Linked DNA regions of Homo sapiens: region 2 is linked to region 1. The links are contacts of gene promoters, found by promoter capture Hi-C in human tissues and cell types (Jung and others, 2019). All regions are on one chromosome and are shown on one strand. The core of a region is centred on a gene start or on the middle of the fragment in contact, and the rest is flanking DNA. Distances in the headings are between cores, read along the strand shown.

What was found. Contacts are between HindIII fragments. The study calls those that stand out against the background at their distance.
Region 2: a fragment that was not itself captured here is called in contact with the fragment with the promoter of ARAP3 in region 1 in 1 of the 25 tissues and cell types used here (spleen).

The regions. Positions count from the first base shown.
Region 1 is chr5:141,680,267-141,685,037 of GRCh38, forward strand. ARAP3 (ArfGAP with RhoGAP domain, ankyrin repeat and PH domain 3) reads right to left here and starts at 1,964. Exons shown (of 33, transcript NM_022481.6): 1 at 1,907-1,964; 2 at 1-237. The coding sequence starts at 220. RefSeq lists a silencer at 1,964-2,013. The HindIII fragment of the contact is 12,570 bases long and covers 1-4,771 here.
Region 2 is chr5:142,079,540-142,084,310 of GRCh38, forward strand. No RefSeq gene overlaps it. Among named protein-coding and RNA genes, the nearest start is that of NDFIP1, 27 kb to the right of the region's middle. The HindIII fragment of the contact is 5,041 bases long and covers 1-4,771 here.

The DNA of each region.
Region 1 (4,771 bases), core at 714-3,213:
TGGGATCCAGGGAGCCCTCTTCGGTGCCTGTCTGTAGCAGGCGTAGAATGCGTTTCCGGTGCCCTGTGGCGCTGATGCCCAACTGCTTCAACTCCTCGTGGCCCAGGCCCCGGGCTGCACCTGCTGTAGCCAGGCCATGCCGTCGGAACGTGTCTGCATACTGCTCCAGGTGCACCGTGGCCAGCCACACAGCGATGTCCAGGTCCTGAGGGGCAGCCATGGGGGCTCAGGCCATTGCTGGGGGGAGGGGCAGGGTGAAGGGAGGGCTCAGGCTGAGAATCCCCCTCTCTGCCCCAGAGTCTGAGGCCTGGACAGTGAGCACCAGCCTCCAATCTTCCTCCAAAGAAAGATGCTGAAAGGCCTGCGATCTGGAAGCAGAGCCATCCCAGAACAACAGCAATGGCTCTCTACTTAGGGAAGGGACTTCATTTGAAGTTAAGGAAACTGAGGCCCAGAGAGGGGAAGGGGCTTGCCCCAGGTTCACAGTAAGTCAGTGCTAGAGTTGGCCCCTCAGTTCCTGCCCACCCTGGGTCTGGGTCAAAGCTCTGCTCCTGCCTGACTGCACATCCAACTGAGTAAGCATGGGACAAGATGCTAGAATGCTGTGGGTCAGAGTGGGATAGGGAGATGCAGAGGAGGGGCCAATGATGTGGCCAATCAGCTCTGGAGTAAGGTAGGGAGAGGGGCAGCCTAGATAGGAGGAAGGAGGTGCAGACGCCCCCTCCCTCTTGTTTCCAGAGCCGATGTATGCAGGCCTGCCGTCCTAATCCTGGTTGTTCCCAGTCCCTCCTCCCCTTCCACCTATTGTCTCTGCTCAGACTTCCTTCCTGTCCCTCCAGCCCTGGCCGCCTCCACATCCTGCCTGCTTTGGTCAGGCTGCCGGGAGAGCCCTAACCAGTCCTAATGTGTGGGGTCCCGGCCCTGGGTGGAGGCTAATTGAAGAATAAGGATGGGGATGCCAGAGAGATGAGGCCTGACCTCTGGTCAGGGGTACTCCAGAGGCTTCTGGACTCTCTGCCCACCGGCAGCATGTTCACATGCTGTTCACCTGTGTGTGCACATGCCCTGTAGCGATTTGGCAGTGTGAAATGCCATCCCCCCACCTCTGCTTTCTCCAAGCCTTCCTTTTCTGAGCTTGCCTTTTCCCTGCTCATTCCCTTGGGCTCAGGTCTCTGTGCTCTGTCCCCCTTCCACCAGCCTGACCCCGACCCTGACCCTGGTCTATTTCATAGACCTGTCTCTAATTCTGTGGCCCCTGAGTTTTATCTCTGCCTTGTCACTGTCCCTGCCCCATTCCATCTCAACCTCTCAATTCTTCTTTGTCCCTCTCCTTGTCCCACCCTGTTTTGCTCTCTGTTATTAAGCTTGTCCTTGACTCAGTCTACAATTCTAACCAGATCTTGAGTTGTATCTGTGTCTCTGTCTGCCTCTGAGCCTGGGTTTCTGTCTTCCGCCTCGGCCTAGGCTCTCTCCCTGTTACTCTTGTGCTCTGTCGGTGACCAGGACGCCCTCTCCGTCCCAGCATCACTGCTGGCCTCCCTCTGCCTCTCTCCAGCTGGGCCTCATTCCCAAGCCAGGGCCCGCGTGCTGAGCCTCGGGCCCTGACTCAGGGCCCGGTTTCCCGGTGACTCAGGCCGGGCTCGACAGCACGGGGCTGGGAGCTGAGGTGCTCGCGGGACAGGAGTGGCGGGGGCGGGGCGGGCAGTGGCGGGCAGCGCAGGCTGCGACGAGGGAGGGGGCGAGGAGGGATGGGGCAGAGGCCGGGCAGCAGGAGGGAGGGGCGGGTCGTGGCAGGGATGGGGAGGGCCGCCGGCGCCGAGGGGGCCTGGGAGCCCACGAAGGCCCTCGAGAAGGTGATGGGGAGGAGTCTGGGAAGCAGGGACCCGGGGGGCGCGGGGGTCCTCACCTCACTACGCGGCCGCCGTCCGCTCGCGGGTGCCCGCCGCTCGTCCGAGGTTCTGGGTCCCGCCGCGCCGGCCCCGCCTCCCCTCTGCCCTCCCTCGACGGGCCCAGCCCCGCCCCGCCCGGCCGGTTCCCTCCGCGGGGCCCCGGCCACTCCTTGTGCAAGCGCAGGCCTCCAAAGGGTTTGGGCTTCTTGCCCAACCGCCGCGCTTATCTCCGAGTCTGCCCCCAGTCTGCCCTCTCGCAGGCCGAGAAAGGACCAGAACACGTTGGGACGAAGACAACCTCAGGGAGAGGGACAAAGAGGCAGAGACCGGGACGGAGACTGGGACGGAGGTAGAAACTGAGAAAGGGAGAGTGCCAGGGACGGCTTTGCATCCTCTCCGCTGCTCCCATGCCCTCCAGTCCTGCCAAAAGGGAGGAGGAAAGGTCGAGCCCTAATCCCCCAGGGCACCTCTCCCACGCCCGGAAGGGTGGCTGGACCCTGGCAACCAGTTTAGTGTGGGGACGGAAGCTGGACATCCAGAATTGAGACTTGGCCTGGGCAACAAGCGCAGAGGCCCAGCAGAGGGGTACCCGTCTGTTTCTCCCCACTTCCATCCCCAAGGGCCCGGCCTAGGTTCCTTCGAGGGATGAAGGTCCGCAAGGCACATCCCTACTTCCAAACCAAGGTTTGGGGCTGCCTTTTTGGGACAGGCGGACGCCCTGCAAGCTCAGTGACCAAGCAAGCAGCTGTTTCATTCATGGGAGAAGCCGCCCCTTCTCCCCAACTCCCACCCTAAAATTTCAGGGGGGATGCCGGGGAGGCCTGAAGAGGAATGGCCCTTCTCTCCTTCGCTAATCTTGCCGGAACCCCGGTCCTGGAGCCTGTCTCCCAGGGGCGGAGGCACTTCCCTCTCTGAGCAGGACCAGTGTTTGGGTGTGGGGGGGGGGTGTTTGTGTGTGTGTGTGTGTGTGTGTGTGTGTGTGTGTGTGTGTGTGTGTGTGTGTATGTGTTGGGGGTGGCGGGGGCGCTGGCCGGCTGTGTTTTCCTGTTTGTATGAGAGGAAGTTGGCTGTGAGTCAGCAGACACAGGAACTGTCAGTAGCTAGGGGAAGACCCCTGCCTCAGGGGAAGAAGAGGGGAGTGGGAGGAAGTGGTTCCCACCTCTTCCAGCTGCCTCAGCTAGGGGAGGGACTGTCATCTTCAACCTACTGGAGCCCCACTTTCCCGGCCTTCCCTTTGAGAAAGAGAATTATAGTAATAAAATAATAATTGCAATAGCCATAATAAGGGCTACCAATTATTGAGAGCTGACCGTGCTCCAGGATCTATGTAAACATTGCTTTGCAAACTTTAATCCTCACAAATATCCCTACAAATAGGAAATTTTATCACCTCTATTTTACATATAAGGAGACAGGGAGCATTAAATAACTTGCTCAAGACTCTGCAGCTAGAAAATAGCCAACCCTCCAAGTCTATATCTATAACTACCATGCTCACCTACCACCCTGGACAGGACCCCTGCACCATGTCCTTTTTTTCAGATGGGCAACTGTGGTGGCAGTGAGAATGCTCCTCACAGATCTTACACTGTGAGGAGTGAAATTAACCAATGGCCCCAGCTGCTTCTCTCTGAAATCTAAGGCCAGCTTCCCACTGGGCTGCTCCCAGCCAGTGACAGAGCTCAGCAGAGATCTAAGGCAGACCCATTCCTGGGAGATAGGGGACTCCTTTGACAGCTGACTTTGGATCAAGATTTCCCAATGGCTTTGCTGAACTTTCCTTTGACTGGTGTTTTAGGATGCTCCTCTCAACCTTTATTCCTTCCCTCTCTCCTTCACAGCTCTCCTAGCTCCAGGCTCCCTTCCTCTCTCACAGGCATCTCCCCTAGTCAAATCCTTGCATTCTGCCTTGGCAGCTTCTTCTTTAAGGACTCAGACTAACCCAGCAAAATAAGGGAGCAGGAAAAGACAGTAAAGGGCACAGGGAGTTTTGAGGAATGGATGCCGGGGAGTTTGGGTCAGGGGCTAGATGCAAGAGTTCTGAACCTTTTTGTGCCATGTTCTCCTTTGGCAATACGGTAAAGTATGTGGTCTCATCTCAGAATAATATTTTAAAATGCATAAAATAAAATATATAGGATTGCAAAGGAAACCAATTATGTTGTAATACACATATAAAACCGATGTGATATAGTAATATATGTGCTTCTTTATTAATGCTTTAAATAAGATCTAGTGGTAGGTTGATACCTCACATAACTTTGATGCAGTGATGAGCATAAATGGTATTTCAAAAGATCTGCAATATTGTAATATGATATAAAAATATATGTGATTTCTACTGGTGACAAAGCCATAGTTATGGCTAAAATGACTGGTTTGTTGCTATTGTCATAATTGGAGGAAATGTTAAATTTCAGCTAGAGATTAGTGAAAGTAATATTCTTTTCCCATCCAAGTCCACTGACTCCAAGTTAAGGACACCAATGCCAGATGATGGGGCAGAGCCACAGAGAGGGAGACCTGGCTTCCTCCCTCAGACCCCACTTCCCTTCTTTGGCTCAATGATATGGGGCAGGTGGAGGCTTCTGGCCCCTGGCTTGTGTCTTCCTGAGTTCAAGCAATTCTCGTGCCTCAGCCTTGTGCCTCAGCCTCCCGAGTAGCTGGGATTACAGGTGCCTGCCACTACACCCAGCTAATTTTTGTATTTTAGTAGAGACAGGGTTTCACCATGTTGGCCAGGCTGGTCTCAAACTCCTGTCAGGTGATCCATCCACCTCAGCCTCCCAAAGTGCTGGGATTACAGGCGTGAGCCACCATGCCCGGCCGAAATTAGTAAATCTTAAATCTTAATCTTAACACATAGGACAAAAGGGACACTA
Region 2 (4,771 bases), core at 1,055-3,554, 400 kb after region 1:
AAGCCAATGATGATTAATCCTGCACATTTATCAGAGCCCAAGAGTAGAGACACAATAATGACAAACGGCATCAGGCAAGATAATGGTTGCGTTTGATCACTACAGACTTGGGCCTGCTGTGATGTACAGGGGTGGTAGCATCAACCAGATCTCAGCCAAGAAATGAAAACCTGCATGTCCACTGTGGTAGCCACCTGCCATCTGTGGCTACTGAGCACTTGAAATGTGATTAGCCCAAATTGAGATGTGCTGTAAGTGTAAAACACACACTGGATTTTGAAGACAGTATGTAAAAAAGAACATAGCAGGCTGGGCACGGTGGCTCACGCCTGTAATCCCAGCACTTTGGGAGGCCAAGGTGGGCAGATCACTTGAGGTTAGGAGTTTGAGACCAGCCTGGCCAATATGGTGAAACCCCATCTCTACTAAAACAACAAAAATTTAGCTGGGCATGGTGGCTCGTACATGTAATCCCAGCTACTAGGAAGGCTGAGGCAGGAGAATCACTGAACCTGGGAGGTGGGGGTTGCAGTGAGCCGAGATTGTGCCACTGCACTCCAGCCTGGTGACAGAGCAAGACTCCGTCTCAAAAAAAAAAAAAAGAACATAACATACCTAATTTTTTATTGAGTACATGTTAAAGTTATAATATTGACTAAATAAAATATATTACTAAAATTTATCTCATATGTTTCTTTGTACTTCTTTAATGTGTCTGCTAGAAAATTGAAAATGATGTGTGACCTACATTTGTGGCTTGCATTATATTTCTTTTGGGCAGAGCTGTTCTACAGTCAGACGTTAACAGGTGAGGCAGACACCGCTTGAGTTTGCTTCTTGGCACACAGTGATTCCTCTTTTTCAGATGACTGCTTTTGTCTTGATTCCAGGGTTGAGTGGTCTCCTAGGTGCTGGTTTTTGACCAGAGGATGAAATGTGACTCAAACCTGTCAGAGTGCTTCCGTGAGAATGCTGGAAGTCGTAACATGGCAGTTGGAGCCGTAACACGTAAAGTGAAGTGATCTAGACCAGGGGTCCCCAACCCCTGGGTCGTGGACCTGTACCAGTCCATGGCCTATTAGGAACTGGGCTGCATAGCAGGAGGTGAGTAGCAGGTGAGCAAGCATTACTGCCTGAGCTCCGCCTGCTCTCAGATCAGCAGTGACATTAGATTCTCATAGGAGCAGGAACTCTATTGTGAACTGTGCATGTGAGGGATCTAGGGTATGCACTCAGCACCACTTATGAAAATCTAACTAATGCCTGATGATCTGAGGTGGAACAGTTTCATCCCAAAAGCATCCCTCCATCCCCTGTCCACGGAAATTGTCTTCCATGAAACCAGTCCCTGGTGCCAAAATGGTTGGGGACTGCTGCTCTAGACGGCCATGATTTTCTATCCTATGGGTCAGGAAAGCAGATGGAGGTTATCTGCAAAGATAAGATAGAGACAAAGCACATGTGTAGGTTTAGAGAGGTACAGGTGAAAGATGGGGAGTGCTGCTGGTGTTTGAGTCTCTGGTTGCAACATATATTTGCCCCAGCTAAATTATCATGCTTTGTCCTGTGAGATACCCTGGATTGCTACTATACATGTCCACTTTTTTTCACTTAATCTAGCACAAATGGGTTTCTCACTGCTAAAAGAGTCTGAATAATTCTGAATAATTCATACTTCAAATCTAGTTTTTGTCATCAGATCAGGTCTAAATAGATTTTCTAGGAAGTTCATAAAGCTGAAGCTTAAGCTTCGGGGCCATTCACTTGCAAAGGTCCCTTCCAAAGCTCCATTTTGTATTTGGAATTTTGTATGCTTTTTCTGTTTTTTCTTTTCCTTCTTTTTCTTTTTCTTTCTTTTTTCTTTTTTTTTTTTTTTGAGTTGGGGTCTCACTGTGTCACCCAGGCTGGAGTGCAGTGGTGCCATCTGGGCTCACTGCAACCTCCGCCTCCCGGGTTCAAGAGATTCTCCTGCCTCAGCCTCCTGAGTAGCTGGGATTACAGGCACATGCCACCACGCCCGGCTAATTTTTGTATTTTTAGTAGAGACGGGGTCTCACCATGTTGGTCAGGCTTGTCTGGAACTCCTGACCTCAAGTGATCCTCCTGCCTCGACCTCCCAAAGTGCTGGGATTACTGGCATGAGCCACCACGCCCGGCTGCATTCTTTTTCTTAAAGAGGGTTATCCAAATTGTATAAACCTCAGGCTCCACAAAATGTGAATTTTCCCTGTATACCCATTCCTCTCTGTGGTTGCAGATACAAACTTTTGGTAATTTCAGAAAGACTATTCCTCCATAACTCCAAATTTATAACTTCTTTAGGTCCTTTGACGAGCCTCCCTCTGCCTGCAATGTTCTGCCTCCAGACTTTTCAGGAGTTGGCTCCTTCTTACAAATCAGGTCTTACTTTCAATGTGTCAAAGAGTAACAGAGCCACTTGTTACAGGTGGTAAGACAAAAAAAATTTATTCAGTACTACTGCCACAAGGGAGAGAGACTTCAGTGTAAAGGCAGCTCAACTCCACCAAAACAAAAGCTTGAAAGCCTTTTAAATCCCGGAGTGTGCTAAAGGAAAGATACTAAAGGACATTAAGGGGGCTTTAGTCTACCTGATTGGGCTATCTGGGTTTGTTAACTGGAACTTCTGTGGAGGAGAAACAAACTGCTCCTATCATTAGGGCAGGAGGTAGTTTTGTAAATTGGAGCAAGGCACCCACAGAAGTTAGGCTCTTACTCTCCCAAAGGAACTGGGAGACAGAAGTACTACCTCCCTGGATGTCTGCCTTTCAAAGAGATGGCTCCTATGTCCTTGAGGAAACTTTTCTGAATGGTAACATATTTACATCTTAAAGGGGCAGGGAAAGGATTCATAATGGCAAGCTTTCTAAAGTAAAGGCTCTAAGAGTAAAGAAATCAGGAACCTATTGTCAGGTCTTGGTGGGAACAGTACATTTTTTTGGCAGTGTTGAGCTTTCTCAAGCAGGCACTTAAAGTGGGGCTGGGGCCAGAAGTCATGCTAGAGTTTAGTCAAGTCTCTTAGTGCAGCAAGGTTGGGAGGGTGGTCAATGGTATTGGATGGAGTCATTTGTGCCAAGGGTTTTGTAGTTCTCAAATGTCACCACCTTCAGAAGGCATTCTCTCTATAACTCACCCAAGGAGTTCCTTCACATCATCTTGTTTTCTTGACAACTTCTTGACCTTTATTTTCTTACATATGCCACCTCCTACTTTTTCTAAAATGAAAGTACCATAAGAGCAGGAATACTGTCTTGCTCGCTGCTGTAGCCCCAGCATCTAGAACAGTGCCTGGCACATAAGAGGCATTCAATAAACATCTGTTAGAATTATATTTACAAATATTTATAAAGTGTTTGTGTGCTGGGCATTATTCTAACACCTTAACAAATAAAGTTCCCAAGTTTCTATTATTGTCTATACTCTGGATCAGATTTTCAATTCCTTTTTTTTTTTTTTTTTTTTTTTTTGAGATGGAGTTTCACTCTTGTTGCCCAGGCTGGAGTGCAACGGCTTGATCTTGACTCACTGCAACCTCTTCCTCCTGGGTTCAAGCTATTCTCCTGCCTCAGCCTCCCGAGTAGCTGGGATTACAGGCATACGCCACCACGCCCAGCTGATTTTGTATTTTTAGTAGAGACGGGGTTTCACCATGTTGGCCAGGCTGGTCTTGAACTCCTGACCTCAGATGATCCACCCACCTTGGCCTCCCAAAGTGATGGTATTACAGGCATGAGCCACTGCGCTTGGCTCAATTCCTTTTTTTTTTTTTTTTTTTTTTTTGAGACAGAGTCTTGCTCTGTCACCCAGGCTAGAGTGCAGTGGCATGATCTCGCCTCACTGCAACCTCTGCCTCCCGGGTTCCAGCAATTCTCCTGCCTCAGACTCCCTAGTAGCTGGGATTACAGGCACGTGCCACCACGCCTGGCTAATTTTTGTATTTTTAGTAGAGATGGGGTTTCACCATGTTGGCCAGGCTGGTCTTGAACTCCTGACCTCAAGTGATCCGCCCACCTCACCCCCGCAAAGTGCTGGGATTATAGGCGTGAGCCGCCATGTCCAGCACTTAATTCTTTTTTATAAGGAAGAAAACTGCAACTCATCAGCAAATATTTATTAGGCTATGCCTGTGTTCCAGGTACTGGGCTAAGTGTTTCACAAACATTATCTCAAACGAATCCTCACAGCAACCTTTTAAGGTAGGCTATTCACTCAAGACTGCATTTGGCTGCGTGTAACCAAATCCTGACAACAGTGGCTTAACCCACTAAGAGTTAATTTCATCATGTAACAAGAAGTCTGGGGCATGTGGTCCAGGATTTATCACGAACCCACCAAGGCCTGGGTTTCCTGTTTTCCTGCTGTCTCGTTCCTAGAATGTGGCTCTTATGAGACGATTGCAACCATTCTAGGTGTCATTTTCTTTCTTCAGGCAGGAACAGGGGAAGAATAAAGTTCAAAGAGTATGTATCAGCTGAATCTCTCCCTTCTGATGAGGGATACAATTGTCTTGGAAGCTCCTTATATGATAATACTGTTTATACCTTGATACAGTTAGGCTTTGTGTCCCCACCCAAATCTTATTGTGAATTGTAATCCCCATAATCCCCAGGTGTCAAGGGAAAGACCAGGTGTAGGTAACTGAATCATGGGGAAAATCAGTTTTCTCCATGCTGTTCTCCCGACAGTAAGTCCTCACAAGATCTGATGGTTTTATAAGGGGCTCTTTCCCCTTCACTCAGCACCTTTCCTTCCT